Regions from separate parts of the Homo sapiens genome. Here all the other regions are linked to region 4. The links are contacts of gene promoters, found by promoter capture Hi-C in blood cells and fetal thymus (Javierre and others, 2016). All regions are on one chromosome and are shown on one strand. Each heading gives the region's core, a stretch centred on a gene start or on the middle of the fragment in contact. The rest is flanking DNA. Distances are from core to core; before and after follow the strand shown.

Region 1 (3,837 bases), core at 867-3,366, 500 kb after region 4:
GTCAAGGTTAAGTGCCTTAAACTTACCAATCCTGGGCTCAGTTCTCCTTTGAAAGGAGAAAGTCTTTGTCCTCTACTTAGGCAGCTGGGCTAGAAGTGCCTTTTGACTTCTAATGTTAACTACCCTCCAAAGCCTCCTGGGTCAAGAAGGCTCTCCCAAACTCCACCCCTGTTCTTCCTGGTCAGAGAACCAGTCAGTCATTCTAGTCTTCTAGTCCTTAAACTGATCTGATGACTTGGAACATAGGATTTCACTGCAAGTCTGGCTTTTTAGTCTGGAAATACATTTGAGGTCTGTTTTCGCACAGCTGGATCACCTGTTTCCTGGTTTTATTACACAATTCAGAAGGCTAGAAGAGGAGTTTGGGGGCTTGGCACCTGAAAATTTAGACCGCATTCTTATTAAGTAAAGGAAGAGGTAGGGAGGCCGAGGCGGGCGGATCATGAAATCAGGAGATCCAGACCGTCCTGGCTAACACAGAAACCCCGTCTCTACTAAAAATACAAAAAATTAGCTGGGCATGGTGACATGTGCCTGTAGTCCATCCCAGCTACTCGGGAGGCCGAGGCAAGAGAATCACCTAAACCTGGAAGGCGGAGGTTGCAGTGAGCCGAGATCACACCACTGCACTTCAGGCTGGGCAGCAGAGCGAGACTCCATCTCAAAAAAAAAAAAAAAAGGAAGAGGTAAAAGGCAAGGCAGCATTTAATAAGTACCTGTTGTATCCTTTTAAGTGTTTGTTGTGGTAATCCTCACAAAGACCGGGACTGATGGAAACTCCTTGCTATTAAACTTTTTTTCTTGAGGAATTTTGCTTTTCAAGTGCATATACACTATTAATATTTTTTACCCAAGAGAGCATTCTAAGCTAATTTATGCAGTGTGACTGTATTAAGCATTAAGCTTCCTTCAGAGCTGGCCTATCGGAGATGCTACTGCCCTCTCTACAGATGTGTCTGAAATGCCTGCCCAAGGATGGCCCTTAGCCAGTTAACAGCTTTATAGCCCATCCTCATTGCTTACTGCCACCCCTCAGCTGGGGTCCAAGGCAGTACTATTCAGTTTATTCACCAGACCTGCCTCCAGACATCTACTTCTTTCAAAAATTAGTGTTTTCCATCAAGGAGCATGTTCCAGAGCATTTCCCAGAGATGTCCCAAAGAACACTGTCCGGTGCTGTGGCGTACAGTGGCAACAGCATTAGACTAAGTGGAACATCCCAGCAGGCTGCTTTAGAATCCGCTCATTTGACTAGATACGATGTAATTGGCTGTCTTTAAAAAACGCGCACACACACACAATCTGATAGGCATATCTCATGCCCATTCAATATGGAATGTTCTTCGCTTGCTGAATTTAAGCCTGTATTTTAAGGTTTTGTGGTTCCTCGGCCACAATGGGTGATGTCACTGATAGAACGAAGCTGAGTTTCCAAGGGTTTGGGGCTGTGCAAGAGTAAACACTAGAGCTTGAGTTGTTATCCAGCTGGCAAGCACGGAAGTCTTTGAAGAATGTAATGTAAAAAGGGAAAAGAATGTAAAGCTTTTTGTACCAAATGAGAGTTGGAGCCCAGCCAACAAATGCTTTTCCCTGTGTAAAAGTCTCTCTGGAAGGGACATTCCATCTCCATGGTGCACTCTGAGGGGCACTGTCAACTAGAGATTGGCCCCATCCAGGTGGGAGGAACCCCTTTGGGATGGTGAGTATCCAATCTGCTGTGCATTTGACAGGATCTCTGAATGGCTAGGTAATGGATCCCAAGCAGGCTCACAAATTTAAATGAGGGCTTTGTGTGCAGAAAGAGGAATAAGTACAGATTATTTTCCTACCACTAGATTTTTGGGGAGAGTCACCATGGAATGTTGACAATTACTTAAAATATTTTAAGCTCCCTTGCTGAATTCCTGTCCTGTCCCTGAGGAATCAGATGGTCATACAGCCATAGGCACCCACCCGAAATTTCCCTAGGAGTTGGAGTAATGCTAGAATTGAAGACCTTCTGAGTAAAGGGCTTCTCTGCCTTCTCAGAGGCAGGAGAATTTGCACTGGTTGTGTTAAATGTATAAAAAGCTATATGTTCACCAGTTTACTCATTTCCAATGTGTAGATGAATAAAATGTAGTGTACAAATTATTTGAAAATCCCAGAAGGAAGGTACTTTTCAAATACAGTATTTTTTTTAACAAATAAACTTACGATTTTTACAGCACTGTTTTTGCCAAGAGTTGTGAAATAACTTGTGTACTTGGGGAAGTGGAGGTTAAATACCTGCCCTAAAGTCATTCCACCACCGAGTCAGCACTGGAAATCTCATCTCTTGCTTTGCCACACTATTTTAAGAGCTGTCCCTGTTGGAACATAACAACTAGACAGACTCATGTAGCATTAGAGTTGGAAGGTCTTTTTAAAGACATCTGGTCCTACTTCTTACATGATACACAATTCCCCCTACCAACTACCTATGAAGAGCCCTTCTGTCATACGGAGCTCCATCCTGGGATAATTCTATTTTAGGAACTATTAGATTGTCATACTAAGCCAAAAGCTGCCTCATGTCCCGGATCTGGACTACTATGCCTTGCCCCCACATCATGTTAGAACTTGAGTAGTCCTCTCAGGCCTTCATCTTGATTGGATAGGGACTCAAACCCAGCTCAAGAAGATATAGTGTTAAGAATTGCAAAGCTTCCAATTAGGGTTCACAGCCCCATTGGGCAGATAAGGTGCCTACGCAGTGGGAATGCAGTTGGGCAGGAAGATGGTTCCTGTCAATTAGCAAGGAAGCACACCCTTGTCCTGAGGCACAAAGCATAGCCAGCGGCAGGTGAGCTGGATTTTATCCCCCACTGGTTTATTCAGCCAGGTGTGCTTGTACAGTGATCACTACACAGCCATACTTCTTGGCCCTGTTTTAACTACTTGTCCTAATGTGTTTAAGGACAGGGCTCTCCCGCTGGGCACGGTGGTTCACATCTGTAATCCCAGCACTTTGAGAGGCCAAGGCGAGCGGATCACCTGAGGTCAGGAGTTCAAGAGCAGCCTGACCAACATGGTGAAACCCCGTCTCTACTAAAAATATAAAAAAATTAGCTGGGCATGGTGGCAGGCACCTGTAATCCCAGCTACTCGGGAGGCTGAGGCACAAGAATCACTTGAACACAGGAGGCAGAGGTAACAGTGAGCCGAGATTGCACCATTGCATTCCAGCCTGGGCAACAAGTGAAACTCTGTCTCAAAAGAAAAAGGGCTCTCCAACAGGTTTTCTGCTTCCATTTCTGCTTTCCACTGGGTCCAAGAAGGTTTCTCCCTCTTCAAGTCATTGTGCAGTTTATTCTGCTCTACTTCTCTAAAGCACAGGACCCTGTTGTTTCACATAGCCTTTGCCTCACCAGTGTTGCCAAACTTCAGCTCCCCACGCTGGGCAACCTGCGCCTGTGCACCATTCAGGTGATGATCTGTCATCTCACAAGGGCTCCAACAGATGCTGGGACCGCCTTTGAGACAGAATGCCAGGCACACTTCTGATATGTGAAAGTATTTCCACCCTTGCAATAATTTAAGAAACATCCGGGCCAGGCGCAGTGGCCCACGCCTGTAATCCCAGCACTTTGGGAGGCCGAGGCGGGCGGATCACGAGGTCAGGAGATCGAGACCATCCTGGCTAACATGGTGAAACCCCGTCTCTACTAAAAATACAAAAAAATTAGCCGGGTGAGGTGGCGGGCGCCTGTAGTTCCCAGCTACTCGGGAGGCTGAGGCAGGAGAATGGCGTGAACCCGTGAGGCGGAGCTTACAGTGAGCCGAGATCGCGCCACTGCACTCCAGCCTGGGCGACAG
Region 2 (4,104 bases), core at 1-2,500, 470 kb after region 4:
TTTTCTGAGTTGGAAGGAAGCAAACTAAAAGCATCTAGTACAACTCTAGTGTGCAAAAAGGTGTGATGGCCAGCAAATAGATGGGCAGACCCTCACTACTCAGGACATCTTCCAAACCAGGCAGAATCCTACCTGTCTTATCCTACTTGCATCATTTCTTCTTCTCTACGCAGGAAGACTATAATTTCCAGCTAGCAACAGGAGAGAAGATAAAATAGGGATTGCATCCCAATAAACATCAATCTTTTGTGGTCCCTGAAATAAGTGTATCCTTCCAATAAAAACTCTTATCTACTGTAGGTAGGCTCTGTTCCTTGTAATCCCCAACTAAGACAGTCCAAAATTAATACTGGTAAAAATACAAGAGAAGAAATCCAGGTTCACTCCCCGTGAGAGAAGTGAGGCAGGATGTTACTTACGTAATAGGGAAATTGACAATAGTTGGATTCTTCTCAACAAAGAAGTTGTTCTTAGTGAATCTCTTGATACAAAAGATTAGATATGGAGGCAACTTGGTAAGCTGGAAGCGCTTCAGAAAGTTCTCCTTGTAAGTCTTATATTCCTAGAGAAAGAAAAGAAAATTCTCAAATTAGTGCTGAAGTTCAGTAGTATTAGAGCAGGGGCATGAGTTTTTCATTTCGATTTTTTAAAATATAATTTTGCCTCACACTTAAGTTCACAAGACTCCTGGTCCGAGAAATTATGTATGAGGCTTAGGATGTGCAGTTTGGCTAAGGCTGATTTAAAAAAAAAAAAAAAAAAAAAGGCCGGGCCTGGTGGCTCACACCTATAATCCTATCACTGTAGGAGGCCGAGGCAGGGGGATCATTTCAGCACAGGAGTTCGAGACCAGCCTTGACAACATGGTGAAACCCCATCTCTACTAAAAAGGAAAAAGAAAAAAAAAGAAAAAAAAAATATATATATATATATGTAAAGAAAGAAAACTAACCAGGCACGGTGGCTCATGCCTGTAATCCCAACACTTTGAGAGGCTGAGGCAGGCAGATCACTTGAGGCCAGGAGATCGAGACCAGCCTGGCCAACAGGGTGAAACCGCATCTCTACTAAAAATACAAACATTAGCTGGGCATGGTGGCATGTACCTGTAGTCCCAGCTACTCGGGAGGCTGAGGCAGAAGAATCGCTTGAACCCGGGAGGTGGAGGTTGCAGTGAGCTGAGATCACACCACTGCACTCCAGCCTAGGCAACAGAGTGAGACTCCATCTCAAAAAAAAAAAAAAAGTATGTCTCCCCACTTTTTGGAGTTTCTCCTCTCCTAAATGACCTTCCTTTCTCTATACTACCCCAGAGGCAGGCAGAAAGCTGAAAACAGGATATATGAGAAGTACAAGAGGGGGCACTGTGGTTGGGCAGTGGTTCACATCTGTAATCCCAACACTTTGGGAGGTCGAGGTGGGAGGATCCCTTGAGGCCAGGAGTTAAAGAATGGCCTGGGCAACAAAGTGAGCACTCTCTCTACAAAAATACTTAGTTGGATGTGGTGGAGTGTGTCTAGTCCCAGCTACTTAGGATGCTGAGGTGAGAGGATCACTTGAGCCCAGGAGTTTGAGGCTGCAGTGAGCCATGATCACGCCACCATGATCACCCAGACTAGGTGATAAAGCTAGACCCTGTCTCAAAAAATAATAAAAAGGGGCACTATAAGTTAAGAGTTGGGGGTGACCAGTGAGAAATACCAACGAGTCTGGGAGGCTCAATAAAGTCAATATAATTTATAATAAATACGTCACATACATGTGGTGATTCTTACATATAAAATGAAAATGGGCCAGGTGTGGTGGCCCACGCCTGTAATCCCAGCACTTTGGGAGGCGAGGCAGGCTGATCACTTGAGGTCAAGAGTTCGAGACCAACCTGGCCAACATGCTGTCTCTACTAAAAATATAAAAAATTAGCCAGTCATGGTGGCGGATGTCTGTAATCCCAGCTACTAGGAAGGCTGAGGCAGGAGAATCGCTTGAAACTGGGAGGTAGAGATTGCAGTCAGCCGAAATCACGCCACTGCACTCCAGCCTGGGCGACAAGAGCAAAACTCTGTCTTGAAAAAAAAAAAAAAAAGAAAATGAAAAAGTCGAGAGAGCGAGGGTAAGTATAGGCAGGGCAGGTGTGTTAATGGGCTACCTTCTCAGTGATGCCATTGAACTTAGCCAGGATGTTGAAGAGTGGCACTTGGGGAATGATGAGCTGCTCCTTCTCGTCCTTGTAGAGGGGGGCAGTAGGAAGGTCCAGCGTCAGGTACATAAAAGTGGACTCCACCATTGTCTCCTGGTACTCGTCATTATGGAGCAACTGCTCTTTTTCTTCTGCTGGCTAGAAATGAATGAGAAGAAAAGAGAGGAAAGGAGTGTGACGGGTATAGGAACCAACACAGAACCGATGTTTTACCACGCCGACATTTCCTTCATCTGAAAGAACAAAGAGAAGTGCCCGAGAGATTGGGCAGTTTGGCATGCACCACCTGGTTAGATTAACTTAAGAACCAACAGGTTTCCTTCTTTAAAGATATTTTGCTTATATACCAGACTATCTAAAAAGCCCTGAGGCCAAGTGTGATGGCTCACGGCTGTAATCTCAACACTTTGGGAACAAAGGTGAGAGGACTGCTTGAGTCCAGGACTTCCAGACCAGCCTGGGCAACACAGTGAGACTCCATCTCTACAAAAAAAAAAAAAAATTGGCCGGGCATGATGGCTCACACCTGTAATCCCAGCACTTTGGGAGGCCGAGGCAGGTAGATCACCTGAGGTCAGGAGTCCAAGACCAACGTGACCAACACGGAGAAACCCCGTCTCTACTAAAAATACAAAATAAGCCGGGCGTGGTGGTGGCGCCTGTAATCCTAGCTACTCGGGAGGCTGAGGCAGGAGAATCACCTGAACTCGGGAGGCGGAGGTTGCGGTGAGCCGAGATAGTGCCATTGCACTCCAGCCTGGGCAACAAGAGTGAAACTCCGTCTCAATAAAATAAATAAATTAATTAATTAATTAAATTAAACAAAAATAAAAATAAAAATTAGCCCGGTGTGGTGGTGTGTATCTATGGTCCCAGTTTCTGGGGAGGTTGAGGTGGGAGGATCACTTCAGCAAGGGAGGTTGAGGTTGCAGTGAACCATAATCACGCCACCACACTCAGCCTGAGTGACAGAGATCTTGTCTCAAAAAGGAAAAAAAATCCATTAAAAAAAGAAAGTGGGCCGAGCACGGTGGCTCATGTCTGTAATCCCAGCACTTTGGGAGGCCAAGGGAGGTGGATCACCTAAGGTCAGGAGTTTGAGACCATCCTGACCAACATGGTAAAACCTCTTCTCTACTAAAAATAGAAAAATTAGCCAGGCATAGTGGCGCATGCCTGTAATCCCAGCTACTTCGGAGGCTGAGGCAGGAGAATGGTTTGAACCTGGGAGGTGGAGGTTGCAGTGAGCTGAGATCATGCCATTGCACTCCAGACTGGTCAACAAGAGCAAAACTCCATCTCAAAAAAGAAAAGCTCTAAGACCATCTAGGAAGCTTAGCTGAGGGCCAGGCACGGTGACTCACGCCTGTAATCCCAGCACTTTGGGAGGCCGAGGCAGGTAGATCACCTGAGGTCAGGAGTTCGAGACCAGCCTGGACCAACATGGTGAAGCCCCGTCACAACTAAAAATACAAAATTAGCTGGGCGTGGTGGCAAGCGCCTGTAATCACAGCCACTCAGGAGGCTAAGGCAGGAGAATCGCTTGAACCCAGGAGGTAGAGGTTGCAGTGAGCTGAGATGGCGCCACTGCAACTCCAGCCTTGGCGACAGAGGGAGACTAAGAAAAACAAAAAGAAAGCTTAGCTGAGCTTTCTGAAAAAACACAGCAGCACCACCTAGTGGCCAGAACACTTAAACCAGCACAGTACATCCAACCACTAACTCCCAAACTGAAAAAGTGCACTAGTATGACAGGGACCAGGCAGAGCTGCCACTAGGCAGGTGCTTTGTTGAACCTCTTCACAGGGCAAGCAGGCTTGTCAGTTCTCTGAGCATCTCTTCATCTCCCCTACGTCCCCTCAAGCAATATGAATCAGTCCAAGACCCAGGCTCAATTAACTCACCAG
Region 3 (3,768 bases), core at 458-2,957, 410 kb after region 4:
TATGAATTCATGGATTCTGCTTTATTCAATGGATTACGATCTGTTCTTGTCATCATCTATTCTGAGGCTCAAATAGCCCCAGATTTGGCCATCGGTAGTCCCCTTGAACAGCTTCTTTGATTGAACCCAGAATAACACACCATACTCCTTGGGTGGCCAGCATCCATTTTTCCCTCTTCCCACCAACAGTAGCCCAGATTTTCATGTTTATTGTCAACCAAGTGATTGGGTTGAGATGGACCCCACCTCAGCTCCAGGGGTGTGCCCTGCTTAGCTTAAGCCAATCAGTGTACCCCATTATTCTCCAGGACACAGTGATTGGTCTGAGGGTGGGCAAATGACCTGTGAGAACTGGCCAATGAGAACTGAGGAGATAGCTGATAGGCCTTCTGGGAAAGAAGCTTCCTATTTCTTTCCAAGGGAGCTCTCTCTCCCTCTGATGGAGGCACTGTAAAGAGGTGAAGTGTGGACCTGATGAAGCCATTTCTGCTGCCAAGAGAGAAGCGAACCTGAAGACAATTTCAATATACAGAGGTCGGGAGAACGAAAAATTGCAATAAAACAGGACTGGGGCTCTGCTGACGCCACACATTTCTGGATCATTCTGTGCCTGAACATACCCGTGGACTGGTTAATTATTTGAACCAGTAAATTATCTTTTTTGATTAGGCCAGAATGGGCTGAGACTTCTGTTGCTTGCAACCAAAAGGGCCCTAAAAGATACACTCCCCCGAAACCGCAAAGGAAGGCTGCCTGTCGCAAGAAGCAAGAGGATGGGTTTCTGTTCCTTTTCACCAAAAACAAAACAAAAACACCTCTAACCCTGCTGGTCTATCCCACTGGTCTGAGAGCTTCTGGGGACATCGCCACTGTGTGCCTTGGCCTTTCTGAATAACGCATGGCTGTGGTGAGTGCTCAGTAAGCATTTCACGACTAACTGTGTGAATGCTGTTAAGGTTGTCTCGTTCACCACTAAATCCATAACATCTACAACAGTGTATGGGACACACGACAGACATTTATTGAAGGACTACACAGCTCACCCCAGCATGCCACTGACACCCACCCCTCAAATCCACCAAAGAAGAAGCAGCTGCGGCTAAAATCTTGCTTGACACTTTATTCTCGTGAGAGGGGAGGACAGCAGAGGGAGTCAGGGGAGGGAGACTGGAGAGTGGATTCTGGATCGAGGAAGCGAGGAGCCGGCAGAGGTTGCTGAGGTTCCCGGGATCTGAGGACAGGAGCCTGTGCTTCTTCCACAGGACAAGGTGAGAGGGCTCAGAGGGGACCTGGAGAGGAGAGAACAGCCAGCTGTGGGCAGATGTGGTGGGTCCTCAAGGAGAAGCAGGCACTCAGAATGTTACTTGCTTAAGGTCCCAGAGCCACCTGACCCTACTGAACACACCCAGAGGCACATCCTGGAAGCCAGTCGGCAGCCTGAGCAGGTTGTGGGGCCTTGAATAGAAAAGCCACAAGCTCCAATGACAGGAAATGGTGGGGACCCCCGATCTGCCAGCATAAAATCCCAGAGCATTGGCAAGTGCCAGCTGAGCTGCCAGAGCCAATCACCGAGGCCCCTTTCTGGCCCCATTTCCTACAGCCGAGATCTGTTCTCTCCAGGCACAGCCTGGGCAGCCATGGAGGGAAAGGCCTCATGCTCCCCTGCCTGAAGGGTTCCCTAGCCCAGATCTCAGGGCCCAGGATTGTGGGGGAGGATATGGCCCCAGCTCCCGACCCCAGGGGCCTGTGCTGGGCTGGGATTGGAGTTTGACTGAGGGTCTGATGACCTTGAATAGCCTCAGTCTGAGGACATTTCCCCAGGGTCAGGTCCACACACACGGTGACCTCCTTCAATTCTCATTCCAATCTCAAAAATCAGGATTGCTATCTCCCCTTCACAGATGAAGAAACTGAAGCTCAGAGAGGTCAAGTTATTTGCTTAAGGTCACACAGCCAGGGAGAGATGGAGACCAGATTTTACTCCACGACCACCTGTGTCTGAAGCCCAAGCTCTAATCAGTATTTCTCAAACATTTCTAGCTAAAGTCCATCTGCTCAATTCTCCACACTTTCCCAAGCTGGGAGATGGGGGAGTAAGGAGGCAGCTTTGATATATCCTGGGGGAAGCTGTCTCCAACCCTCAGGAGGTATCCCTGCTGTCACCTCTGCACTCACCTGTAGAAGGTATACACAACCTGAGGTCCTCACAGATCTGCTGGGCAGTTTCTCCGGCCACGAGGCCCTGGGTAACTCTAGACTGATACCTCCTCATGAAATTTCTGCAGACGTCGCGCCATCGTGACCTCCCCGTCCTACACACCCGGGTCGCAGCATTGGAAACACTTCTCTGCAGCAGCAGCACCACAGTGGACATGGTTATAGGGTGAGTCCTGCCCAGCTCTGCCACCCTGCAGGTTCCAGCAGCCCTAGCAATGGGAGTACTGGGTGCGAGGAGCTGGCACCTGGTGCCCATGGGGCCAGAGACTGTACAGACGGGGCTCAGCCCCTACTCCCAGTCCCCAAGGCCTGGCCCAAGACTGGCCAGGTAGGGCTCCTGAGACAAGGACAGTTAGCCCTGCTGGGGTCTCAGCGCCTTGTGCACCTGTCCCCTGCCTTCTGTGTGGAGAATGGTGCCCATGGCTGCCAGGCACACATTAAATGCTCTGCCATGTAGCTACCTGGGTCCAGGACCTGGCTGGGGGCTCCAGATAGAGGGGGTGCATAGAGAAGACTGGTGGGGTGGGAGGTGTGGTCAGAGCTTGGAGTCTTGGCTCATTTGGTTTTAAAGTCTCTTCTATGCCATCCCAGGGGAGGAGGATGAATCTGGGTATCCAGGGCTAAGTGCGAGCCTGCAGTGCCAGGATGCTGAGTAGTTTGGGGCAGCAGAGGAGAGGGAAGGAGGGAGAGTGAAACAATAATTCTTGGTAGTAACACAGTCATTCGTTAAGCATTTACTCAGTGCTGGACGTGGAGCTAAGTACATCCCAGCCCTCAGCTCTTTTAAAAAGCTTCAGCAGCCAGGTGCAGTGGCTCATGCCTGTAATCCCACACTTTGGGAGGCCAAGGCAGGTGGATTGCTTCAGCTCAGAAGTTGGAGACCAGCCTGGGCAACACAGTGAGACCCTGTTTCTACAAAAGTACAAAAATTAGCTGGGCATGGTGGCGCACACCTGGAGCCCCAGGTACTCAGGAGGCTTAGACAGGAGAATTGCTTGGGCCAGGGAGGCAGAGGTTGCAGTGAGCCAAGATCACACCAGTGCACTCCAGCCTGGGTCTCAGAGTAAGATCCTATCTCAAGGAAAAAAAAAAAAAAAGGGTTTGACAACTTGCAAGATAGGGACTATTATCCATCACATTTCAAAGATAAGATAACAGAGGCTCAGAAAGTGGAAGTGACTTGCCCAAGGCCATGCAGCTTGGAAGTAGCAGATCTGGGATTTATCAGTCCTGACCCAGGCCTCTTGGGGAACTAGCTTCTCAAACTCTGCCTTGGACACAAATGTTAGGGCTTTAGGGGAAGATTCCTAACTTCTCTGGGACAAGCCCTCTTTGAGGATACATGATGAAAACCATGTATACTCTGCCGTCTGACTTACACAGTTCCAGAGAGTCACAATTTCACAAGTTCTCTGAAATTCATCCACAGACACACGGGGACTCACAGATTCCCTTCTAGGAAGCCCTCCCCCAGGATCACTGTGCAAGGTGCCCCCGGGCTCCCCGATCCCCGACCTGGTCACAGGCTGGCCCCTCCATTGAGCAGCAGAC
Region 4 (3,990 bases), core at 114-2,613:
TCTGCTTCAGGCAAAGAAAATGAGTAGAAAAATGCTAACGATGGCTACCAGGAAACGGAGGACTGGCATTGAATGGCAGCACAAAGGTTTCTGCAGTATCAGATGGAGTGGTTTCTCTTTCTTGAGGGGAACTAAGGGAGAGTACATATAAAAACATATTGTAAATTACATACCCCACTTATACCTCACAAACTTTTCGGATGGTTATTACCAACTCTAGTCTGCAGATGAGGAAATCTGTCTATTATCATCCAATTAAGTGAATGGCAAACACTAAACCTAAAATTAGGCTTTTAGCAAGTTTTCACTACAAATTACTGCCTCTCATATTCCCACAATGCCACTGTTTGTACTGAGTGAAAAAAAAATTACACAGATAGGTCATACATGTTCCAAGCTATAACTATCACAGATCAAAAGGGCATAGTCAGATCTTTTAGACTTTTCTGCTTTTACGAAAACCTGATAACTTCTTTAGCCAAAGTCCCCACGGTGGCGACCAGAGACTGCCTTTTATTTGGGAAGATCTTGTACGTTCTCCTCGCTCCTCCTGATTGGGTTAAAATGAGTAATGGCGGATAATTTTTAATTTGGGGTAGTGTTGCTAATAGCCACACTCACTGGAACGCAAGCTTCATGAGAGCAGGGTCCTAGCTTTGCGGATGGTGTTAACTACAGAATATTGCAAGCAACCAATAAGTATTTCTCTAATGAATAAATGCGTTGCGAATCCTATTTCAAAGGGCCACCTCCGCGTACCTGGTCTTAAGGGCACGCGACCGTTAAGGGCGCGCATGAGCAAACCATTTCATCGTGCCTACTTCCACAGCCAGCTGGGAAACATAGGACTAAGGTGACTCCGCGGTCTTCTTCGCGGATACCCTAAGCGTCTCTTACCTGCAGCTGCGTGCCTGTTCACACAAACCCGCCCGCCGACCCGTCAGCGGCTGGCCAAGCCTGCTGCGGAGGCCCAGCCAGCGAACAGCAGATACAACCGCCATCTTTGATTTCTCTGCAGAGCATGTTGGGAAAGCGTGCCTCGACCTTCAGGAAGGTGGGGCGCAGTGGGCGGGGAGCAGGGAACAGCTCCGCTATTGGCTGAAGCGGAAGAAGACGAAAGCAATCATAAAATGGGAGGTTGCAAGCTCATGGTTTGAAAGACTTCGTCACGGAAGCTAAAAGCTCTATACACCCGATTTGCCTCGGAGGAATTTTCCTAAATGATTATTTTGATGTCTTATATATCTTTGATTGTTTTCAAAACAAAAGAGCGAGCAGAGAGTCGTACAACTATTTGTTCCCCCCCCATGTAGAAGTGATCTCATCCACGTAAATGTCGTTCCTGCGACCGCTTCCGCGCGCAAGCGCACGTTGAATCGCGTGGTGACTCCGGGCTTGAGGTTGAATTAAGAATAGTCAGGTGGTGAGTGGAACGTCTCTTGGGGTGTCGGAATTCAAAACGGACCTGGAGGATGTTGATCTCCAAGAACATGCCCTGGCGGCGGCTGCAGGGCATTTCCTTCGGGATGTATTCGGCTGAAGAGCTCAAGTAAGGAGTTGGTCGGGTAGCGTGCCCAGCCTGGATCTTGAGGTCGGCGCCCTAAACTACGATTCCCAGAAGCGCTTTTGCCCAGTCTATCCTCTTGAGTCCAGGCTTGTCTGGCGCTTGTCCTGCTGGGAGCCGTAGTTCTGGGAACGTTCCTGGGCCGGCGTGGACTGCCTGGATAAGAGGCCGGTGGTGCTGGGGGAAAGAGTTTGCGCTGAGGTAGGGGAATATAAGGGTGGGGAGGGTCCTGGTCTGCAGCGTTATCATCTGCCAGTCTCCTCGTTAACTAACAAGCATTTGTGGAATTAACCATAGTGTACCTGACATGGTTAATTAGGCACGTAGTAAGTTTCCTCTTGTTTGTAAAATGATTGTCCTTCAAGTGTCAGTTCAGGCGTTAACTTCTCTTTGCTAGGACCCTGCTATATTCTCGGTCTGGTTGTTAAATCAAGGGAACTCTCTTTAGTCTTCATTTTGATCAAGGTAGCATTTGACATTCTCCAATGCACTCTCTTGAAACTTTCCTTTCTTCCAGAACCTTATTTGTCTTCAAGTTCTCCTATTTTTATGACAAATACTTCTACCTCCCTCTCTTCCTCTATCGATCTATAACCTCACAAACATTTATTGAGCATCCAGTTTTTTCCAGGCACCAAGCTAGGCGTTAATGACACATTGGTGAGCAAGGTCTGTACCTCATTTTACTCCTTAAATGTTGATGTTCTTCAAGATTCTATTCTAGTAATGTTTTCTTCATGGTAAATATTGTCCCTAGACAATCTCACCACTTTCATGATTTATAGTCTCAAATTTAAATCCCCAACGCAAATTTATTTCCCTGATTTTCAGACCCATTTGTTCAGCTGTCTGTACATCTTTAATTGAATTTCACACAGAGATCTTAAATGCATATCAAAAACTCAACATGGCCTAAATGCATATCAGAAACTCAACATGGCCGGGCACGGTGGCTCACGCCTGTAATCCCAGCACTTTGGGAGGCCGAGGCCGGCGGATCACGAGGTCGGGAGATCGAGACCATCCCTGGCCAACATGGTGAAACCCCGTCTCTACTAAAAATACAAAAATTAGCTGGGCGTGGTGGCGGGCACCTGTAGTCCCAGTTACTCGGGAGGCTGAGGCAGGAGAATCGCTTGAACCCAGGAGGCGGAGGTTGCAGTGAGCCGAGATTGTGCCACTGCACTCCAGCCTGGCGACAGAGCAATACTCTGTCTCAAAAAAAAAAAAAAAAAAACTCAACACGGCATCCCTCTTCAAAGGGAGGGGTTACTTACCCCTCCAAAATGGTGTACGTAGTGCAAAATAGTCACTAGAAACTGGAAAATTATTCTAGATCTCTCCTGACATATAACTTATTTATTGGGCTCTTACTTTGTGTCACCTACATGTCTATTTGTTCTTAGTCTCCTTTTTCTCCCAATTGCTACTGTGTTGCCTCTGGCCCTTATCTCATATTTGAATTGTCTTTTCCTTCCACCCTCCCCTTACACCTCTCAAGTGCATGCTCCACACTGCTGTCAAAATTATTCTTGCAAAGTGCAAATGTAGTCATGCTACTGTCACCCTTAAAACCCTCCAAATGTTCTCCATTTCCCTCAGATAAAGTATATTTTCTTAGCATAGCCTGCAAAGTCTCCCATGATCAGACCAATGCTGATTTTAGCTATAACATCATCCCTTCTTCAGCCCTATTAAACCACCTGCATATTCCAGAAACCGCCATCATATTTCAACATCTGGGCCTTTCTTTAAGCTATTCCCTCTGCATGCAGTGTCCTTTCAGCCAAAAGGAGGTACTTCCCTCTGTCCCCTACCCAACATACACACCTGAAAGCTCAGTTCACCTCCCTTGTTTTGTGAGGTCATTTTGCACATGATACAGTTGTCTGTCATGGTGCTTTAGTGACTTTTTGTGCTTATGTATATTTGTCTTCCTCCACTATCCTTGAGCTTCTTATATGTGTCACTCTTGTCTTTTATCCTCAAGTCTGAATAAATGGATGAATAAACTCCTGAGCCACAGCTCTGGTATCATTGGTAACAGTGTGCTAGCCCAGAAATTCCAATTATATCATCACTGCCATAAGTGGATACGATTTCATCCAAAAGCAGAAGTGTTTTAAGTTGCCTGAATTTTTAAAAAGATAATTGTGGAGTTTTCAAACAAGTTTAGAGTTGAGACATTTCAATAATACTGCCACCTTTTATTGTGCCAGGTTCTAATAGCTTCCCATCTCACTCAGAGTAAAAACCAAGTCTTTACAAATGGCCTGGAGGGGTCATTTCAGTCTCCTGTTACCTCTCTGATCTCACCTCTATTCTGGCTACCCTGACCTCCTTGCTGCATCCAGAGCACCACGGGCACACATCCACCTCAGGACCTTTGCACTCCCTGCTTCTTCCTCCTGTAAAACCCTCTGCCC
Region 5 (3,665 bases), core at 898-3,397, 450 kb after region 4:
GCACCAATGCTAATAAAGTCCTATTCTCTTTTATGAGAAAGAAAAAGACACCGTCCTTTAAAGTGCTGCAGTATGGCCAGACGTGGTGGCTCACACCTGCAATCCCAGCACCTTAGGAGGCCGAGGCAGGAGGATCCTTGAGGTCAGGAGTTCGAGACCAGCCTCGCCAACATGGTGAAACCCCATTTCTACTAAAAATACAAAAAATTAGCCAAGTGTGGTGGCATATGCCTGTAATCCCAACTACTCAGAAGGCCGAGGCAGGAGAATTACTTGAACGCAGGAGAATCACTGCAGCCCAGGAGGCAGAGGTTGCAGTGAGCCGAGATTGCACCACTGCACTCCAGCCTGGGTGACAGAGCAAGACTCCATCTCAGTAAATAAATAAATAAATAAAAAGCGCTGCAGTAGCTGTGGCCTCACCCTGAAGTCAGCGGGCCCAGGCCTACCTCACTCTCTCCCTTGGCAGAGAAGCAGACGTCCATAGCTCCTCTCCCTCACAAGCGCTCCCAGCCTGCCCTCCAGCTGCTGCTCTCCCCTCCCAGTCTCTACTCACTGGGATGAGGTTAGGTCATGAGGACACCAAAAACCTAAAAATAAACAAAAAGCCAAACAAGCCTTAGCTTTTCTTAAAGACTGAAATGCCTGGAAGTGTCCCTTTATTTATAAAATAACTTTTGTCATATTTCTTATACATGTTTCTTGTAAGAAATTCAGAAACTACAGACAAAGAGAGTGGAAATTACCCACTGTCAGGCCTCTGAGCCCAAGCTAAGCCATCATATCCCCTGTGCCCTGCACGTATACACCCAGATGGCCTGAAGCAACTGAAGATCCACAAAAGAAGTGAAAATAGCCAGTTCCTGCCTTAACTGATGACATTCCACCATTGTGATTTGTTCCTGCCCCACCCTAACTGATCAATTGACCTTGTGACAATACACCTTCCCCACCCTTGAGAAGGTGCTTTGTAATATTCTCCCCACCCACCCCACGCCCGCACCCCCGCACCCTTAAGAAGGTATTTTGTAATATTCTCTCCGCCATTGAGAATGTGCTTTGTAAGATCCACCCCCTGCCCACAAAAAATTGCTCCTAACTCCACCGCCTATCCCAAACCTACAAGAACTAATGATAATCCCACCACCCTTTGCTGACTCTTTTTGGACTCAGCCCACCTGCACCCAGGTGATTAAAAAGCTTTATTGTTCACACAAAGCCTGTTTGGTAGTCTCTTCACAGGGAAGCATGTGACACCCACAATCCCACCTAGCCCAGGAGAGAGCTACGGCAGGGTGTGTGTTTTGACACTGAGCTTGGGGCTTTTTCCATCTTCTCCCCACAGCCTCTGGCTCCACACCTCCACCGTTCAAGCGCCAGAAAGAGCTGTCTATGCAGCCTGCTCTTGGGCCTGGGGATGAGACACACAATTCATTGGCTCCTGGATTTTAAGTAGACATTTGTAAATCTATAGCTAACTACTGTCCTTAAAGCCATTGTTTCCATTACAAAATCCAACTCTCTGAGAGAAAAGGGTGTTTTAAATTTAAAAAAATAAAAACAAAAAAGTTTGATTGAGACAATGAAGAGCCAATGTTTGAAGAACTGGAGGCATTAATAGTTTATCCCAAAAATATGAGTGGGAATGAGTGCCTGATAATGAAAAAGGCGGCTTCATTCAAAAGGAGGTCAAGAATTGGCAGACTTTGGGAGGCTGAGGTGAGTGAATCACTTGAGCCCAGGAGTTCAAGACCAGACTGGGCAACGTGGCAAAACACCATCTCTATAAAAAATATAAAAATTTGGCTGGGCATGGTGGCTCACACCTGTAATCCTAGCACTTTTGGAGGCTGAGGTGGGTGGATCACTTGAGGTTAGGAGTTCCAGACCAGCCTAACATGGTGAAACCACATATCTACTAAAAAAAATACAAAATTAGCTGGATGTGGTAGTGCATGCCTGTTATCCCAGCTACTTGGAAGGCTGAGACAGGAGAATTGCTTGAACCCAGGAGGCAGAGGCTGCAGTGAGCCAGGATTGCGCCACTGCACTCCAGCCTGGGCAACAAGAGCAAAACTCTGTCTAAAAGAAAAAAAAAAAAGATACAAACATTAGCTGGCCATGGTGGTGTGTGTCTGTGGTCCCAGCTATTCAGGAGGCTGAGGTGGGAGGATCGCCTGAATCCAGGTCAAGGCTGCAGTGAGCCGTGATGATGCCACTGCACTCCACCCTGGGTGACACAGAGAGATCCTATTTCAAAAACAAATAAATAAATAATTTTAAAAAAGAGTTGACTAGCTGGTAGGAGGACAGAATTGGCAGGAAGTGGCTACACTTGAGACTCCTAGGGTCCCTGAGAAGTGTCCAACATCCTGCACCTCTGCCCTTAGGAAGTTGGGGGAAGAGAAGTCCCAGGAGGGATTATAGCCCAAGAGGAGGGGACTTATTCTTCACTTTCCAGGGTGTGGGCTTCTAAGAGAAGCCTGCCTCTCACAGGACATCAGAAAGGGTGAGGACGCTAGCCTGAGGGATGGAGCTAGGCAGCTGGCCTGAGGTCTGCCTCACAGAGTGTTCCCAGTGTGATGTGGTTGCAGAAGAGCAACCTCAACCCACAGACCGAGAGGCAGTCAGAATTGGCTCTGGACAAGATGGTGCACCCGTAAGAGCCCACGGTTGGGGATGAATCTGTGACAGATTTAGTGGATCTTGAGATGAGCAGAAATCAGATGTGTAGCAGTGATGGCACAAGAAGATGATGATCAGGCAAGACGAGAGACACTCCAGAGAGACCTGGATGGCCAGGGAATGCTTAGTCCCCAGTGCCTCTCCTCACCGCAGGGCAATCTGTAAATCATTCCCAGGGAAAGGGGAAAGAGGATTCAGTGGTTAGTCAGCCAAGAGAGGCTGAGTATTAAGAAGGGAATGAGTTACTCCGAAATGGAAATAATATGTTTTGAGGGCTCATGAGCCAAAATGAGTTCAGTTATAGAGAAATAAAGATAATTACATTATGTCCCCCTAATGAATAACTGAAATTTTAAATCCACGACATAATCATTATTAACATGTTATTATCTATAATTCCAAAGCTTTCTGTGCACATATACAAAAACAGATACAGCAGATCTACAAAATGGAAACATCCTATACATGCTGCTTTGTAACCTGCACTGTTCATTTAACAATAACCTTTTCAGGTCAATAAATGTAAGTATCTACTATTATTGCTAATTGCCACATGACAGCTCTGTCTCCCAGGCTAGAGTGCAGTGGTGCGATCACTCTGGGGTTTAAGCAATCCTCCTGCCTCTGCCTCCCTAAGTGCTGGGACTACAGGCGTCAGATACCATGGCTGGCCCTTACTTTTTTTTTTTTTTTTTTTTGAGACAAGAGTCTCACTCTGTCATCCAGGCTGGATTGCAGTGGCGTGATCTCAGCTCACTGCAAGCTCCGCATCCCAGGTTCATGCCATTCTCCTGCCTCAGCCTCCTGAGTAGCTGGGACTACAGGAGCCCGCCACCACGCCCAGCTAATTTTTTTTTTTTTTTTTTTTTGTATTTTTACTAGACACGGGGTTTCACTGTGTTAGCCAAGATGGTCTTGATCTCCTGAACTCGTGATCCACCCGCCTCAGCCTCCCAAAGTGCTGGGATTACAGGCGTGAG
Region 6 (3,622 bases), core at 904-3,403, 430 kb after region 4:
ATACGCCCACTCTGAACCCTCACCTGGCTGCGAGCCCTACCTGCCTGCTTTCTCCACTCTCCCACCTATCAGCTTCCATCCCAGAATGACCCACATGACCCTGGCCTCCCCTGCAGCCTCACTTGTCTGCTGGCTTCTGTCCCTGGATGTCCTGGTGCCTGACCTTTACCACACCCCTGTCCTGGCGTTTGACTCATACCTGATGTGAAAGGACTGGGCACTCTGCTCTCAGCTTCCAGAACTGCATTCCCCAGCCTGACCCTCCGTCTTCTGGGATTCCTGCTTCCCCCTCAGGACTGTTGATCCACACCAGCCCCTCATCCTCACAACCAAAACAGGACAAAATCTACACCAGCGAGAATTGTTTTCTAACAGCTTCTTGTTTGCTAGTATATTTGACTGGGAAAGGAAGGTTTTTTTTTTTCCTTTGGCTTAATTTTTTTTTCAAAGTACAAAGACAATGAGTAATGACCACATGTAATTATACCAAGAAATACCATTATCAACAAGGTGATACACATCCTGCCAGTATTTCTCCAGTGTTTCGTATTGTTGTGTTTTTTTCTTTTTCATTATTAACCTAAGTTTCCTGAGGCATACCAACCTGTGTGTAAATTCTGAGTGGTGACATTTACCCTTATTTTACTGTCTCTTACCCTGTGGGCCATTGCAGTACTTTACATCCCCAACAAATTGCCCTTCAATTATGTCTGCAACTTATTCACCAAATCAGCCAGTTGTACAGTGGCAGTGCCTGGCACCACCATCTGGATAGGCACCAGCCTGTTTCCCAGGATAATTGGTCCCCAGGGTGCTGTTCTCTCTGCAGTGCCACCAGGGCCTGCTGGATGTGGCCATCTCTGCCAGGGATGCAGAGCTGGGCTGTGTCCCCTAGCACCCTGGAGGCCCCAAGGCAGCCAGGGTCTATCCTGAAATGAGAATGTCTCCCCTCCACTCTGGTTTCCCAGTTTGTTAGGCCATTTGAACCTACATGTCCTGGAGCTTTTAGCTGAAGCATCTCCTTCAGCATTTACTTGCAGACATCCTGTCACTGGGACTTGGACAAGAGCCCCTGGGGGCTGGGCTGGGGCAGACCTCCCTGTCAATTTTCAGAACTGCCCTACTCCCTGCCCAGCCAGAACACTGGGACTCTGCTACAAGTGGAGCTCCAGCCTGGTTGGAGTCTCTCTCAGCAGTTGCTCTGATAGCCTTTAGGATGGTGCCCCCAACCAGTCTGCAAAGCCTCCAGACCTCAGACTGCAGCCCTCGGTCATGTTCATTGATTCAGCAAACACCAAGTGAATGCTACTCTGTGCCAGGTACTCCGCCAGGCACTGAGAACAGGAAGATGAGTAAACATGAACATGGGGCCTGCCCTCATGGAACTTACTTTCTAGTGGGAGAGAAGACAATGATCAAATTACAAATAAGTGGACCCAGCGTGGTGAGTTACACCTGTAATCCCAGCACTTTGGGAAGCCGAGGCCAGATGATCACTTGAGGTCAAGAGTTCGAGACCAGCCTGGCCAACATGGTGAAACCCCACTTCTACTAAAAATGCAAAAATTAGTCAGGTGTGGTGGTGGGCACCTATAATCCCAGCTACCTGGGAGGCTGAGGCAGGAGAATCGCTTGAACTTGGGAGGCAGAGGTTGCAGTGAGCTGAGATTGTGCTACTGTACTCCAGCCTGGGTGACAAAGCGAGACTCCATCTCAAAAATATATATATATACACAAATAAGTGTAAACAGTAAGAAAGAACAGCTTGTCCGTGCATGGTGGCTCACGCCTGTAATCCTAGCACTTTGGGAGGCCGAGGCAGGCGGATCACCTGAGGTCAGGAGTTCGAGACCAGCCTGGCCAACATGGTGAAACCCTGTCTCTACTAAAAATACAAAACTTAGCCGGGTGTGGTGGCACATGCCTGTAATCCCAGCTACTCGGGAGGCTGAGGCAGGAGAATCGCTTGAACCCAGGAGGCAGAGGTTGCAGTGAGCCGAGATCGTGCCATTGCACTCCAGCCTGGCCTATAGAGCGAGATTCCGTCAAAAAAAAAAAAAAGAAAAGAAAAGAAAAATGAGGGAAGGGGAGGGGAGGGGAGGTTAAAATGTTGTAAAGCCCAGGTACTCGGTGCTGCCGCCTGTAATGAAGGAGCGCCTTCCTCAGCAGGTGCGTGGGCCCTGGGGTGTCGAGAGACTGGACCCCCTGGTGTTCCTTTAGTTCAGCAGAAACAGCTGCCCCAAGAAAGTTGGGCTGCAGCGAAGTCCGCGAAGGGCAAGGTGTGGGGATCGCGCTGCCCAGGGCGGTGCATCTCCACCTGGCTCCCGGGCGCCACCTTCCGGTCCTGCTTTGGAATTGCACTCCCTGGCCGCCCTGTGTTTGCGAGTGAGGGTTGGGAAGGCTGGGTGGCGTCCTGCCAGGTTGCTTCCTGAGCAGAAGTTAAGCCTGTTCCTTCCCAACTGGAACATTTAACAGCCAGGGAGAGACCCCAGAATTCTCTTTTCTCCTGGCATGATGATGGGCAGTGTTCAAGACGACCACTGCAAGTCAGCCTGTGCCCCGGGGTGACTGTGATGAGCAGAGTCCCTGGCCACACATAATGGGCCTGAGCCTGGGCATGGGACGTAGCTTTGTGGCCCTGAGCCACTACACTTAGGGGTTTCATGGTAATTTCCTGGAGACAGAGGCTCCTAGTGGCTGAAGGAATGTCTTTGTTGTGTTTTCTCATACAGGTGGCTTGGTGAGAGCAGGGCTGCGCTGCCCCTTCTGTCACCCCCACCCTGTGCCTGGAACAGCACTTGGGCACAGAGCCAGGACCCATCAGATTCAGCGACCTGACCCCATCTTCCTGGGAAAACACTTGTTCGTTCCTGCAGGAATGGCAGCTGGTGCCCTTCCAGTCAGAATCAGCTTCTCTTTTCCTGTTGAAGCCACCATCACTGCTCCCTTGTCCTAAGGCAGCTCAACTAAGGAGGTGCCCACTCGGCCTTCCCTGCTCCAGCCTCAAGATGCCTTCCTCAGGCTCCACATTTTCCCTCCATACTTTGCACCTGTTCAGGGCACAGCCCTCATCATGCCCCTCAGGACTCCACTTGAGGCCTCTTACTTCAGGGAGAGACCAAGAAGAGGGGCCTGAAGCACTTCCTGCAGAAAGGAGACCCAGCCCCTGCCAGAGGCCTGTGTGGCTTCTTATCTCCTTAGACCGGAGCAGTTGGAGGCTGGGTCAGAAAGGCAGAAAGGAACAGAAACCAACAATGGGCAGGAATGTCCTCCAGCTACAACCTATAGGCGCAGCTACAGCCAACAGGTGCAATTTTAGGGACATTTAAAAGGGTCATAATTCCATAAACAAAATGCGGTGTATGCACACAGCCTTTAAAAGGAAGGAAATTATAAGAGATGCATGATAACATGGATGAACCCAAAAGACACTCTGCTAAGTGAAATAAACCAGTCACCAAAGACAAATACTATATGAGTCCACTTCTAGGAGGGACACAGAACAGTGAAAATCATAGAGACAGGAAGTAGAATGATTATCAGGGGATGGGGGAAAGGAGAGTTAGAGAGGAGAAGTAGAATGATTGTCAGGGGATGGGGGAAAAGAGAGTTAGAGATGGGA
Region 7 (3,877 bases), core at 539-3,038, 460 kb before region 4:
TTTGAGAGGCTGAGGTGGGAGGATCGCTTGAGCCCAGGAGTTTGAGACCCGCCTGGGCAACATGGCTAACCCTTGTCTCTACAGAAAAATTAAAAACACAGTGGGCGTGGTGGCTGACACCCAGCTACTCAGGAGGCTAAGGTGGGAGGATCACTTGAATCTGGGAGGTAGAGGCTGCAGTGAGGCAAGATCCTGCCACTGCACTCCAGCCTGGGTGACAAAGTGATACCCGGTCTCAAAAACAAATACATAAATAAAAATAAAAGTATATTTTCCAAAGGAAAAGGTTTCAGAAGATTCACACTATATTTAATAGTTGGTGTGAATCCTTTGAGACCTTTTCCCCTGAGGAAGTGAGAATGAGGGTTTAACTTTTCACAATGAACAGGCAGTGCTTTTTTAAAAACAACTTTATTGAAGTATGATTGGACATAAAATAAATCGCACATACTTAGTGTCCAACCTGGTAAGTTTTGATATTGTATACATCTGTGAAACCATCATCACAATCAAGATATTATCCATCATCCCCCTAAACTTCGTGTCTCTTTGTAATCCCTCTTTTCTGCCTCTTTCTGACCCCACTCCTATCCGCTAGCAACCGCCCATGTACTCTCTGTCACTATGTATTAGTTTGCATTTTCCAGAATGTTATGTAAATGGAATCATACGGTTCTGGCTTCTTTCACTTGGCAGAATTATTTTGAGATTCATCCATGCTGTTGCATTTATCAATAGTTTACTTTTTTATTGCTCAGTACTATTCCTTCGTATGGATCAATCACGACTGGTTTATCCATTCACTTGTTGATAGACATTTGGATTGTTTCCAGTTTATGGCTATTACAAATAGAGCTGCTATGAACATTTGTGTACAAGTCTTTGTAAGAACATATGCTTTTTTCCCTCTTGGGTAAATAGCTAGGAATGGAAGGCTGGCTTTGTTTAGCATTTTAAGAAATTGTCAAAATGTTTTCAAAGCTGCCGAACCATTTTATGATTCCACCAGAGACAGGAGTATGGGGCTGAGGTAACAAATGGTCCCCTTCACCATCCTCGGATGAGTTAATGACAGTAACCATCAGCTCACCGTATAGGCCTAATCAGGAACTGTCCGTGCTAAAATGTGTCTAGTTCTCTTTAGTCAGATTCCTTTGAGAGTGTGATTAAGCTCACGGTCAGTGTGGCGTGTAGGACGGGACACACATGGACAAATGCTAGGCAGGAATCGCCCACGCTGGAAAGGGCGATGGCCTGAAAAAAAACGACCGCAGTTGGGATGGAAAGGGGAGGGTTGAAGTTCAGACATATTGAAGTTAGAATGGTTGGGACTTGGTAAGAGGGGAGAGAGGACGATGCCTAGGGTTTAGTGACCAGGTGATGGTGGTGCAAGCAGAGGGGAGGAGTGGGTTGGCGGGAGGAAAAAGAGGTTATTTTTGGTTTGTCACCTGTGAGTTGCCTACTGGACACAAAGATGAAGCTGTCGGGAAAGTGATGCTAAGTGTACACGTCTGCGTGGAGATCCAGACTTCTGGTGCAACATCTAGGTTTAGGTGAAGTATTAGAAGCAGTTGTAGCCAACAAATTCGTATCTTTCAGAGCAATCATTTCTACACCTTACGAAAAGCACCGAATCCGTGGTCTCCCCCACACAGACATGACCAGAACATGTGCGATGACGTCAGCCTTTTTGACTAGTCTCCCACTCACTCGATTCTGCGCAGGCGTATGGCGCATGCGCAACATCCCCTAGTGCCGCCGCTCCCTACTCTGGGGGTTGGGACTACCTCCTTTTCCGCGGGCCCCGCCCAGGCGGCTGCCCGTGACCTGCCTGGGCGCGGGGAACTGAAAGCCGGAAGGGGCAAGACGGGTTCAGTTCGTCATGGGGCTGTTTGGAAAGACCCAGGAGAAGCCGCCCAAAGAACTGGTAAGGGCTACGGCGGCGGCAGATAAGCGGGTGGATCTGTGTGGGGCGTAGTGAAGTTGGTAAATGACAGGACACTCTTCTCCCCACCGCCTGCCCGATACCGCCCGGCCCCCATTTCCGGGGACTCCCACTCGACAGGGGGGCCGGAGGAAGAGTCTTTAGGAGTCGGCTGTGGGACGCGAGAGCTCCTGGTGCCATGGCTCTCGAACAGGTAGCCGAGGGTGGATGAAGAGTTTCTCCACCTCGCCACTGAGCGCGTAGGCAGCGACACCGTCCTGGCCTCGGAAACCTCTTCCCCCTGCGCGCGTTGGTACGACCCGCCCGGAACCTTTTCCCAGCGTAGGCCCCACCCCTCCAGCCCGGCTGCGGACCACCCGGAGAACCTTCTCCTGCCCGAAGCGTTGTTTGGAGCGGGCCGGGTCGCGTCTGCCGGAGGAGCCGTCTGTTCTCCGTCCTCCCTGTTGTGTTGAAAAAGAGGCTCAGTTTCCTCTTTCCCCAGCCCTTGTGTTGACCCTAGGCACATACCGTAGCGGGGCAGGGACTCGACCCAGAAGAATGTTACAGAAGATAGCTCTGGACCCGGCTTCGAACTCTCGTTACCTATTAATTGAGATAATATTGGGAGGCAAACAGTTGAAAATGCCCTGCAGTCAGTCAACCTAAGTTTGAATCCTGCCTTCCCACATCTCAGCTCTGTGATCTCTGGAAAGTTCACTTCTCAGTGCCTTCTCGACTGTGAAGCCAGAATAATAGTAGTGTCACCTCAGAGTAATTGAAGATTCAGGGATGTAAAGTTTTCATATTGGTAGTTAGGGCTAATTCTTTAAATACGGCACAGCTTTGCTACTCAAATGCCAACCAGCAGCATCAACATCACCTGGGAGCTTGTTAAATCTCGGACACCACTCCAGACCCACTGAGTCAGATTTTGAATTCTGACAAGCTCCCTAATGATTAGTGTGCACATCAGTGCTTTGAGAAGCACTGCTCTGCAACACCTAGGCTTGTCCATAATGGAAAAAAAAAATCCTGAAATCCTTTAATAAATGATCTTACCTGTTCAGCTCTAGCAGGCACATTTTAAAAACTAATCTTATGCATCTTGCAATTCCTGGCACATAATGTGCGTTAATGTAAATTTGTTGTTGTTGTTGTTAAAGGCCCTAGAACAGTAGACACTCATTATTTTCGTCAGGAAACTTACTCAGTTTTGCTCCTTGGTAAAATAAAAATTGTGGCGCTTAAATGAAATAACGGTATAACATCACTTTGGAAACTATAGAACATTATATAGATGCACATTTTGTGACATCTGTATATTCTAAGATTCTTGTTATTGTAGAAGTGTGGTAGGGAGAGATTATTTGTTGTCTTCAGTGTTTGGCCTTGGCATTGCCATTCGTAAATTGAGATAAGATTATGGAGAAGCAAAAAAGATGCTGGGGAAATGGTTGCTTTATTGTTTAAACTAGTCTCTAGTATATGTACTACTATACTACTCTAGTATATTGTACACTTAGATTGTTTTTAAATGATAAATTGCTAAGAACACGATATTGGTACACTCTTCAGTAGGGTAATCTACCTGAGAAAGCTGATTGACACTGGAAAATGGCAGGGTTGATGCATGAGATTGGTTTTTAAAACTATGCTTGCCAGAGCCGAACAGGTAAGATCATTTATTGAATAAAAAATTTTAGTTGTTTTTCCCCCCATTATGGACAAGTCTGGGTATTGTAGAGCAGTGCTTCTCAAGCATTAGTGTGCACACTAATCATTAGGGATCTTGTCAGAATTCAAAATCTGATTCAGTAGGTCTTGGATAGGGTCTGAGATTTCTAATAAGCTCCCAGGTGATGTTGATGCTGCTGGTCTACACTTGAGTAGCAAGATTGTAGAGTGAATTAAGATTAGCCCTAACTACCACCACCTTTAGCTAACATATTGAAC

The links. The method cuts DNA at HindIII sites, captures the fragments that hold promoters and counts their contacts. A CHiCAGO score of 5 or more calls a contact.
Region 1: a contact is called between a fragment that was not itself captured here and the fragment with the promoter of POLR1A in region 4, in 1 of 17 cell types (erythroblasts). The highest score is 7.1, in erythroblasts.
Region 2: a contact is called between a fragment that was not itself captured here and the fragment with the promoter of POLR1A in region 4, in 3 of 17 cell types (erythroblasts, megakaryocytes and M1 macrophages). The highest score is 8.7, in erythroblasts.
Region 3: a fragment that was not itself captured here is called in contact with the fragment with the promoter of POLR1A in region 4 in 3 of 17 cell types (neutrophils, total B cells and monocytes); the score reaches 9.2 in neutrophils.
Region 5: a contact is called between a fragment that was not itself captured here and the fragment with the promoter of POLR1A in region 4, in 5 of 17 cell types (erythroblasts, M0 macrophages, megakaryocytes and 2 more). The highest score is 9.4, in erythroblasts.
Region 6: a fragment that was not itself captured here is called in contact with the fragment with the promoter of POLR1A in region 4 in 3 of 17 cell types (neutrophils, M0 macrophages and M1 macrophages); the score reaches 7.8 in neutrophils.
Region 7: the fragment with the promoter of CHMP3 here is called in contact with the fragment with the promoter of POLR1A in region 4 in 1 of 17 cell types (non-activated CD4 T cells); the score reaches 5.4 in non-activated CD4 T cells.

What each region holds. Positions count from the first base shown.
Region 1 is chr2:85,603,626-85,607,462 of GRCh38, reverse strand. It overlaps C2orf68 (chromosome 2 open reading frame 68), which reads left to right. Exons shown (of 4, transcript NM_001013649.4): 4 at 1-2,209. It also overlaps a transcript of USP39 not described here. Among named protein-coding and RNA genes, the nearest start is that of TMEM150A, 2.8 kb to the right of the region's middle. The HindIII fragment of the contact is 1,143 bases long and covers 1,545-2,687 here.
Region 2 is chr2:85,637,434-85,641,537 of GRCh38, reverse strand. USP39 (ubiquitin specific peptidase 39) reads right to left here. Exons shown (of 13, transcript NM_006590.4): 8 at 4,102-4,104; 9 at 2,147-2,335; 10 at 420-562. Among named protein-coding and RNA genes, the nearest start is that of USP39, 23 kb to the right of the region's middle. The HindIII fragment of the contact is 4,567 bases long and covers 1-3,533 here.
Region 3 is chr2:85,696,085-85,699,852 of GRCh38, reverse strand. GNLY (granulysin) reads right to left here. Exons shown (of 5, transcript NM_006433.5): 4 at 2,176-2,347; 5 at 1,001-1,289. The coding sequence ends at 1,279. Among named protein-coding and RNA genes, the nearest start is that of GNLY, 3.6 kb to the right of the region's middle. The HindIII fragment of the contact is 2,607 bases long and covers 404-3,010 here.
Region 4 is chr2:86,103,259-86,107,248 of GRCh38, reverse strand. It overlaps POLR1A (RNA polymerase I subunit A), which reads left to right and starts at 1,363. Exons shown (of 34, transcript NM_015425.6): 1 at 1,363-1,549. The coding sequence starts at 1,473. It overlaps PTCD3 (pentatricopeptide repeat domain 3), which reads right to left and starts at 1,014. Exons shown (of 24, transcript NM_017952.6): 1 at 898-1,014. The coding sequence starts at 1,001. RefSeq lists enhancers at 704-963, 1,344-1,553, 1,754-1,843. The HindIII fragment of the contact is 4,349 bases long and covers 635-3,990 here.
Region 5 is chr2:85,655,232-85,658,896 of GRCh38, reverse strand. It overlaps SFTPB (surfactant protein B), which reads left to right. Exons shown (of 11, transcript NM_000542.5): 11 at 1-1,583. Among named protein-coding and RNA genes, the nearest start is that of SFTPB, 11 kb to the left of the region's middle. The HindIII fragment of the contact is 1,889 bases long and covers 1,203-3,091 here.
Region 6 is chr2:85,678,086-85,681,707 of GRCh38, reverse strand. LOC105374842 (a long non-coding RNA gene) reads right to left here and starts at 360. Exons shown (of 3, transcript XR_940317.3): 1 at 200-360. The HindIII fragment of the contact is 5,932 bases long and covers 1-3,622 here.
Region 7 is chr2:86,561,354-86,565,230 of GRCh38, reverse strand. It overlaps CHMP3 (charged multivesicular body protein 3), which reads left to right and starts at 1,788. Exons shown (of 6, transcript NM_016079.4): 1 at 1,788-1,927. The coding sequence starts at 1,883. The region is part of intron 3 of RNF103-CHMP3 (RNF103-CHMP3 readthrough); the gene reads left to right. CHMP3-AS1 (CHMP3 and RNF103 antisense RNA 1) reads right to left here and starts at 3,161. Exons shown (of 6, transcript NR_183901.1): 1 at 2,984-3,161; 2 at 2,311-2,385; 3 at 1,832-1,963; 4 at 1,449-1,543; 5 at 1,091-1,254. RefSeq lists enhancers at 1,413-1,472, 1,631-1,925, 2,083-2,182, 2,193-2,362. The HindIII fragment of the contact is 23,374 bases long and covers 1-3,877 here.